Linked DNA regions of Homo sapiens: region 2 is linked to region 1. Evidence: promoter capture Hi-C in human tissues and cell types (Jung and others, 2019). All regions are on one chromosome and are shown on one strand. The core of a region is centred on a gene start or on the middle of the fragment in contact, and the rest is flanking DNA. Distances in the headings are between cores, read along the strand shown. Region 1 holds the start of SCYL1 (SCY1 like pseudokinase 1). Region 2 overlaps CNIH2 (cornichon family AMPA receptor auxiliary protein 2).

The links. Contacts are between HindIII fragments. The study calls those that stand out against the background at their distance.
Region 2: a fragment that was not itself captured here is called in contact with the fragment with the promoter of SCYL1 in region 1 in 2 of the 25 tissues and cell types used here (dorsolateral prefrontal cortex and spleen).

The regions. Positions count from the first base shown.
Region 1 is chr11:65,521,625-65,526,332 of GRCh38, forward strand. SCYL1 (SCY1 like pseudokinase 1) reads left to right here and starts at 3,459. Exons shown (of 18, transcript NM_020680.4): 1 at 3,459-3,640; 2 at 3,950-4,090; 3 at 4,297-4,419; 4 at 4,500-4,708. The coding sequence starts at 3,530. RefSeq lists a silencer at 3,307-3,806. The HindIII fragment of the contact is 17,278 bases long and covers 1-4,708 here.
Region 2 is chr11:66,281,732-66,285,795 of GRCh38, forward strand. It overlaps CNIH2 (cornichon family AMPA receptor auxiliary protein 2), which reads left to right. Exons shown (of 6, transcript NM_182553.3): 2 at 528-596; 3 at 1,002-1,049; 4 at 1,304-1,416; 5 at 1,517-1,660; 6 at 1,839-2,475. The coding sequence ends at 1,866. It overlaps YIF1A (Yip1 interacting factor homolog A, membrane trafficking protein), which reads right to left. Exons shown (of 8, transcript NM_020470.3): 5 at 3,970-4,027; 6 at 3,650-3,805; 7 at 3,142-3,235; 8 at 2,849-3,052. The coding sequence ends at 2,906. Among named protein-coding and RNA genes, the nearest start is that of YIF1A, 5.4 kb to the right of the region's middle. RefSeq lists an enhancer at 715-1,218. The HindIII fragment of the contact is 4,602 bases long and covers 514-4,064 here.

The DNA.
Region 1 (4,708 bases), core at 2,209-4,708:
TTTTTTTGAGATGGAGTCTCGCTCTGTCGTCCAGGCTGGAGTGCAGTGGTGCGATCTCGGCTCACTGCAACCTCCACCTCCCAGATTCAAGCGATTCTCCTGCCTCAGCCTTCCCAGTAGCTGGGATTACAGGTGCCCACCACCACACCTGGCTAATTTTTGTGTTTTTAGTAGAGACGGGGTTTCAACATATGTGTAGGGTCCAGCCCTACGGGGCTTAGCATGTGTTCTCCCCCTGTGTGGAGACTAGAGATTGTAATAAATAAAGACACAAGACAAAGAGATAAAGAGAAAACAGCTGGGCCCCAGGGACCACTACCATCAAGACGCGGAGACCGGTAGTGGCCCCAAATGGCTGGGCTCGCTGATATTTATTGTATACAAGACAAGGGGGCAGGGTAAGGAGGGTGAATCTTCTAAGTGATTGACAAGGTGAAGCAGGTCAGGTGATTACAGGATAGGGGGCCCTTCCCTTTTAGGTAGCCGAAGCAGAGAGAGAAGGCAGCATACGTCAGCGTTTTCTTCTCTGCTCTTATAAGAAAGATCAAAGACTTTAAGACTTTCACTATTTCTTCTACCTCTATCTACTACGAATTTCAAAGACGAACCAGGAGTATGGGAGGAGCATGAAAGTGGACAAAGAGCGTGAGCATTGAAGCACAGCACCACAGGGAGGGGTTTAGGCTTCTGGATGACTGCGGGCAGGCCTGGATAATATCCAGCCTTCCACAAGAAGCTGGTGGAGCAGAGTGTCCCCTGACTCCTCCAAGGAAAGGAGACTCCCTTTCGCGGTCTGCTAAGTAACGGGTGCCTTCCCAGACACTGGCGTTACCGCTTGACCAAAGAGCCCTCAAGAGGCCCTTATGCGGGCGTGACAGAAGGCTCACCTCTTGCCTTCTAGGTCACTTCTCACAATGTCCCTTCAGCACCTGACCCTATACCCGCCGGTTATTCCTAGGTTATATTAGTAATGCAACAAAGAGTAATATTAAAAGCTAATGATTAATAATGCTTATAACAATGATTGATAATTGTTCATGACCATCTCTATATCTAATTTGTATTATGACTATTCTTATTCTAACTATTTTCTTTTTTATACTGAAACAGTTTGTGCCTTCAATCTCTTGCCTCCGCACCTAGGTATTCCTCCGCCCACACATATGTGGGGGAAAGGAAGCGAGATCAGACTGTTACTGTGTCTATGCAGAAAAAAAGAAGACATAAGAAACTCCGTTTTGATCTGTACTAAGAAAAATTCTTCTGCTTTGAGATGCTGTTAATCTGTAACTTTAGTTCCAACCCTGTGCTCACAGAAACATGCGCTGTATTGAATCAAGGTTTAAGGGATTTAGGGCTGTGCAGGATGTGCCTTGTTAACTATATGTTTGCAAGCAGTATGCTTGGTAAAAGTCATCGCCATTCTCCATTCTCTATTAACCAGGGACATGATGCACTGTGCAAAGCCACAGGGACCTCTGCCCGAGAAAGCCTGGGTATTGTCTCCCCGACTGAGACAGCCTGATATGGCCTTGTGGGAAGGGAAAGACCTTACCATCCCCCAGCCCGACACCCGTAAAGGGTCTGTGCTGAGAATTAGTAAAAGAGGAAGATCTCTTTGCGGTTGAGATAAGAGGAAGGCCTCTGTTTCCCGTATGTCCCTGGGAATGGAATGTCTTGGTGTAAAGCCCACCAGTCATTCTATTCTGAGATAGGAGAAAACTGCCCTATGGCTGGAGGTGAGATATGCTAGCGGTGATACTGCTCTGTTACTCTTTGCTACACTGAGATGTTTGGGTAAAGAGAAACATAAATCCAGCCTACGTGCACATCCGGGCACAGTACCTTCCCTTGAACTTATTTATGATGCAGATTCCTTTACTCACATGTTTTCCTGCTGACCTTCTTCCCACCATCACCCTGTTCTGCCGCAGTCCCCTTGCAGAGATAGTGAAAATAGTAATCAGTAAATACTGAGGGAACTGAGAGACCAGCGCCGGTGCAGGTCCTCGTATACTGAGTGTGCCGGTCCCCTGGGCCCACTGTTCTTTCTCTATACTTTGTGTCTTATTTCTTTTCTCAGTCTCTTGTCTCCACCTGACGAGAAATACCCACAGGTGTGGAGGGGCAGGCCCCCTTCAAACATGTTGGTCAGGCTGACCTGGAACTCCTGACCTCAGGTGATCCTCCAGCCTCGGCCTCCCAAAGTGCTGAGATTACAAGCGTGAACCACTGTGCCTGGCCCTCACCCCAGTTTATAGATGGGGGACCTAACGCACCCAAAGGGAACTGTGTGAGTTCTCACATCCAATGAGGGGCTGAACCGTGATTGAAACCCAGCACCGTCTCACTGTGGCATCTCTGCCCTTGAGTTATCTCCCAAAGGCATCCCAACCAGACTTTTCATAACCAGTCCCAGAATCTCACCAGTGCTCCATAGCTGTGGTTGAGGCACTGTCCCCAAGCCTGGGTCCTGAGACCCTACCAGCAGAAGAACCACTGCCTGTCCAGCCCCTCCTACACAGCTCAGGGGCTGGATCCCCACCAGTGTGATGTGCTGATTGAGCTAACACCACTCCATGGCTGTCTACACAGGCACTGAGAGATGCAATCCGTTGGCTTGAGAGCCGGGCAGCTGAGCCCAGGAGAGCAGGGTCCCCTCCCAGCCCTTTGGCCTCTTCCAGACCTGCCCAGTTGCTCCTTCTCCCTCCCTCCTTTCCTGGGGTCACTTCTTCTTCCCTCCTCAGTCTCTCCTTCCTCCATTCCCTGGGTGCCCGCCCCTGCCCCGGGGTTCTGGACCTCCTTGGAACCTTGGATTCACTCTCTGCCTCTCACCCACGCTCTTTCTCTGGGGCGTCTCCTCGTGCTTCTCTCATGGTCACTTCACCAGGACCGACTCCTCCCCGGAGCCTGGAGGCACCCACTTGCTGGTGGGAGAGAGTGTCTGGCGTGGGGCCAGTCTCCCTCTCTGGGTCTCTGCCTCACTCCTCACTGCACCCTCTCATGCCTGTCAGTCTTTCTACCTCTCCCCCTTTTTGCCTCGGTTTCCCCATCCCTCTGTCCCTTCTTAAGCTCTCATCCTTACAGTACGCTAGAAGGCAGGCTCTATTATCCTTTAGGATTTAGGCCTCTTTAGATAAAAGGGCTCACAGGCTTGGAGGGTTTTAAGTGACTTACCCGGCGGCGGAGTACTGATCTTAGTACCGCCCGCCGCCCCGGACTGCCCCGCCCCTCCCTAGCCCCCCCATCCCCGCCCCTCCCTAGCCCCCCCATCCCCGCCCCTCCCTAGCCCCCCCATCCCCGCCCCTCTCCCGCCCCTCCCTTGTCCCCGCCCCTTCCCGCCCCAACTCAGGTTCTGCCCCACCCCGCCCCAATTCACGTCCTGCTCCGCCCCGACGTAGGCCCCGCCCTGGCCCCCGGGCCCCGCCCCCGTCTGACGCAGGCCCCGCCCCCTCTCCGCCCCGCCCCGGCTCGGGCGGCCGGAGGACCCGGAGCTAAGGCGCCCGAACCCGCGGCGGCGGTGGGGACGATGTGGTTCTTTGCCCGGGACCCGGTCCGGGACTTTCCGTTCGAGCTCATCCCGGAGCCCCCAGAGGGCGGCCTGCCCGGGCCCTGGGCCCTGCACCGCGGCCGCAAGAAGGTGAGTGCGGCCGAGCTCCGTAGGCCGCGGTCGACCTGGGCCTTGCCTATTCCGCGCCGCCGACCCCGTCGCGTTGCGCCCGGCCTGACGTGGCGGCGGAACCAAGGGGTAGCAGGCCGGGGAGGGGGCGGGCAGTGCCTACGTGGCGGGCGGAGGGACCGAGGGACCGACAGGCGGACAGGGCCGGGGTCACGTGGGCCCGGCGAAGTGTCCCTAAGGCTGACCTGGGGAGAGACCTGGCTGCGGGCCCTTGTCTTCCGGCCACACAACAGCTCTGGGACCATCTCAGGCCCCGCTGCCCTCCCCTAGGCCACAGGCAGCCCCGTGTCCATCTTCGTCTATGATGTGAAGCCTGGCGCGGAAGAGCAGACCCAGGTGGCCAAAGCTGCCTTCAAGCGCTTCAAAACTCTACGGCACCCCAACATCCTGGCTTACATCGATGGACTGGAGGTACCTGCTGCCTTGCCTGCCCGTCTCTGCCCCTCACGATGTCCTGGTTACCCACTCCTGTCTCCCCTCCTGCCCTGTTTCCACCCTATGTGCCCCAGCACCCCCAGATTTGGTTTCCTCTTCCCCATCTCTCCCAACTTCAAGTCGCTTATCTCTCCTTCCTCTCTGCCCCTCCGCCCTTGATAACCCTGTGTCCCCTTCCCCAGACAGAAAAATGCCTCCACGTCGTGACAGAGGCTGTGACCCCGTTGGGAATATACCTCAAGGCGAGAGTGGAGGCTGGTGGCCTGAAGGAGCTGGAGATCTCCTGGGGGCTACACCAGATCGTGGTGAGGTGGGGGGCAGTGGTGATGAGAGCAGGGATGGGGGGTTGCAGGTGCTGGGGCGTGATGGCTCCTTTTGCCCCCAGAAAGCCCTCAGCTTCCTGGTCAACGACTGCAGCCTCATCCACAACAATGTCTGCATGGCCGCCGTGTTCGTGGACCGAGCTGGCGAGTGGAAGCTTGGGGGCCTGGACTACATGTATTCGGCCCAGGGCAACGGTGGGGGACCTCCCCGCAAGGGGATCCCCGAGCTTGAGCAGTATGACCCCCCGGAGTTGGCTGACAGCAGTGGCAG
Region 2 (4,064 bases), core at 1,565-4,064, 760 kb after region 1:
TCACCCCTCTGCCATTGCACCTTCTACTGCTTGGACTGCATTTCCCCCATTTGCTCACCAACACCTACTCCGAGTCCAGCCTGAACTCCCTCACCCCCCACACAGGGTTAAGCGCCCACTCCAGGTCCTCCCTGTACCCCAAACCCTGATCACCTGGAAGGCAGAGTGATCATCCCTCTGGGCCTGGGTTCCTCCTGGGCAGGGGCTGCATCCCAGGCCTCTGGAGCCCCAGTGCTCAGCACAGGGCCTGAGACTTGGCAGGGCAGACACGAAGCCATGTCTTGGGATGTTTTGGAAGGGGGTGTAGTGGACATGGGCCTGAACTGGGCATCCAGACGCTAGGGTTCCCTTCTGGACTGTTGTAATGACCTTGGACCAGGCCCTGCTCCTCCCTGGACCTCGGTTTCTCCACCTTTGCAACAAGCTCCACCTGGCTGGTCCTCTTCAGTAAACTATCCCACAGAAGGACTTGGGGGAAGGCCATAAGCTGCTGCCCCAACCCTGACGGGCACACGCCCCTCCCCCAGATCATAGCCTTTGATGAGCTGCGGACCGACTTCAAGAACCCCATCGACCAGGGGAACCCTGCGCGGGCAGTAAGTGATACATGTGCTGTGCCGAGGTGTGTCCGTCCGTCTGTCTTTCCATCTGTCGTGGGCTGGGGGTGGGAGACGGGAAGACGGGGGTGGGGTGGGGGGCCTACGGCCATGCCCCCTTCCTCTCTGTCTCCGCCCCCAGCAAACACCTGGCGCGGGCTCAGGGCTGAGTTCCTCTTGGCGGGGCGGTGGTTGCCAGGCTCTGGGCCGTTGCCATGGAGACGCGGGTGAAGGCCCTTCCATGGTGACGGTCGCCATGGGGACGGCGCGGCTGCTTCCCGGCCGTGCCGACAGTGCCGCAGAGATCGCTCTGGCGCCCCCTGGCGGCCACATGTGGAGCGGTGGGAGCTGCTCCAGTACCTGCTTCTCCGCCACCCCATCGCGGCCTTTTCCTTCCCCCAACAGCGCGAGCGTTTAAAAAACATCGAACGCATCTGCTGCCTCCTGAGGAAGGTCAGTGTCAGGGCTGGGGGCAGGAGGCTCCTAGCCCAGCGCTGCCCCCACTGTCTGTGGCCCAGAACCAGGCCTTCCCCTGCTTTGGGCCTGTTTGATCCACTCTACTTGGGAGGGAGTGGGAAGCCAGAGGCCTTTTAATCCCCAGAGGTCACGGTGGGTGGGCACCTCCCAAACCCCAGCTCCTCTCTGTCCCCTTGAAGGCTGGTCTGTCATAGCACCAGGCCGCTGACCTCTCACCCTCACTCCCCCAGCTGGTGGTCCCAGAATACTCCATCCACGGCCTCTTCTGTCTGATGTTTCTGTGTGCAGCAGAGTGGGTGACCCTGGGCCTCAACATCCCCCTCCTCTTCTACCACCTCTGGAGGTGAGGGTAGCAGCTGCCTTGGGGAGGCTGAGATGGGGAACAGGGGCAGGATGGGGGTGGGAGTCCTGATGGCAGACACTCAGGCCCCTGTCTGCCCCAGGTACTTCCACCGTCCTGCAGATGGCTCTGAGGTCATGTATGATGCGGTCTCCATCATGAATGCTGACATTCTCAACTACTGCCAGAAGGAGTCCTGGTGCAAACTTGCCTTCTACCTGCTCTCCTTCTTCTATTACCTGTACAGGTGAGGCCTTGCCCACAGCAGTCAGAACTCAGGGAAGGGATGTCCCAGCATCACGCTTCCAATCCCAAGTTCCTGCCTTTTGCCCCTGAGGACTGAGGGCAGCCCAGGGTGTGACCAGGTGGGCATCTGGGTGGCTGTGTGTGTGCAGGGCTAGGCTCACTGGCTCATCTTCCTACAGTATGGTTTATACGTTGGTGAGTTTCTAAGGGGGAAGCCGGCCAGGGAGCGAGCCCAGAACGGACCGGACGCCTGTGCACCCCCAGCCCTGCCCCTTGGCCGCAGAGGCCTCAGCCCTGGGGAGGGAGGGGGCACTGGTGCCCCCAGCCTCTCCAACCCCCAAACTGCTGCTGCGGGGAACCCCCCCCACCCCGCCTTCAGAGCCCTCCCCCTTGGACTAGAGCGGCTGGGCAGAGCTCTAAACAGGGGCAGGGGCTCCTCTGCCAGCCTGTGGGCATGGCAGTCATTCCTGGAAGGGGCAGGACCTCCGGCCTTGTCCATTTCGGGGGAAACTTGGGCCCTGCCAAGGGGCAGAGCTTGACCCTGGAAATTCTGGGCCATCCCCCTCCACCCCCACCCTGAGGCTCCCCCTGCAGGTGGGGGGGTACCCGCACCGGGAATGAGCAGGCTCAGCAGGGGGGCAGCCCCACCCCTAGTCTGCCCTCCCCTCTCCCCCAGGCTCTTTCTCCAGCCCTGTCTCCATCTGCCCCAACCTCAGCCCACCTTGTCTCTTGGACCTATTTTCTATGTCGCCTGGAGGAGTCCGGCACCCCCTCCCCGGCCATTTGTGACAAAATATGAATAAACTACTGCAAATATGTGGGCCCCGGTTCTGCTCCTGGAAAGCTTGAAGAGGAGATGGGGGCCGATTACAGGGACTGTATAGGGGGCAGCCCTAAGCTGAATCCCCAGCCTGGCTTGTCTCACCCCACTAGCCCACAGACCCTGCTGGAGCCCCCCAGAGGGATCAGACGCCTTCCAGGTCCCCTCAGCAGCCTCCTTCCATCTTCTCTTTCCCAGCTGAGGCTGCTGAAACCCTTACAAGGCAGTATCAAGGTCACCAAAGTCATGAAGCCCTCCCTGGGTCCACCTTCTTCCTAGACGGCCCCAAGCCCGATCCCCTGGGCAATGCAGAGGCGCAGAGGTATCTGTAGCTCCCCATCAGGCCCCAGGAACAAGGGTCAGACAAAGTCAAGGAAATCAAATCTTCAATGAATGAAAAACTCAGTGCCATCTGGGGCCAGGGGGTCACCGGACCAGGTGGAAAGTCAGCCAGTATATGATGAGGGGCTGGAAGGCTGCAGCTCCCAGAGTCAGGTAGAGCTGGAGACGCTGCCGGGGGACGGGGCCCCCCATGCTGTCGGGGCCCAGGGCTGCTGTCCGCAAAGAGCGCACCTGGAAGAAAGGAGAACTGAAGCCTGGCCAGGAGGGGGAGGTTTGCCCTCAAGTGAAGGCAGGGGAATGGGGGGGTGCACCAGACTCACAATGAAGTACATGAGCGCCGATGAGGTCCAGGCCAGCGCCACGTAGTAGCCATCGCTGCCGAACAGCAGCCCCGTGAGCACACTGAGGATCATTCTGGGGGTGGGAGGAGGAAAGGGTTGGTGACCCCCAGGGGTCTAGGCCTGAGATTGGCCCTACCCCCAACGCCCAGAGCCCAGCTAGACCCCACCTCCCACAGCACCTTTTACTCTCAATCTGTCCCCACAGGGACCCAGACCCCAAAGGGATATGGAAGGCCCAGGACTCAGCCCCAGGACCTGGATCTGAGACCCCCTTCTCTCCCCAAGACTCGCAGAGTGACTCTCAACACCTCCCCAACCTCTGCATGGCACGCAGATCCTCAGGAGACTGCTGGAGACAGCTGCTCCCTCTTAACAGAGCAGTGCTAGAGGTCACTAGGGGCCGAGACATGTCCAGGGTCACAGTTCGAGGCTACAGCTATGCAGGCCCAGATCCAAGGCCACCTCCCCCTGGCCCACAAGTGCTCACCCCACGTATTTGTAGCCACTGTAGGCCAGCAGGTGAAAGGTGCTCAGGTCACTGCGCACGGTGGCCAGGTAGAGGCCCAGGAGCAGGGCCAGCACCTCCATCACCACCCACACCAGCGCTGTGCTTGCACACAGGCCCAGCACCTCCGGGGAGAACCTGCGCCAAAGCAGGGGTGGCTCAGAGCCAGGCATCCTGAGGCAGGGGTGAGGAAGAGAGACTGGGGCAACAGAGGGTGAGCTGGGGACCACCACATATGCCCTAGGGAGGTTGGGAGAAGAGCTCACAGGGAGGGGAGGGTAAGGGAGGGGCTTGGCACTGACCTTTTCTGAATGCCCAGTGCCATCCCAGCCAGGAGCACGTAAGTAATGAAGGCCATCGCTGCCAAGTGCCAGAGAGATGCCATCAGCTTGGCTTC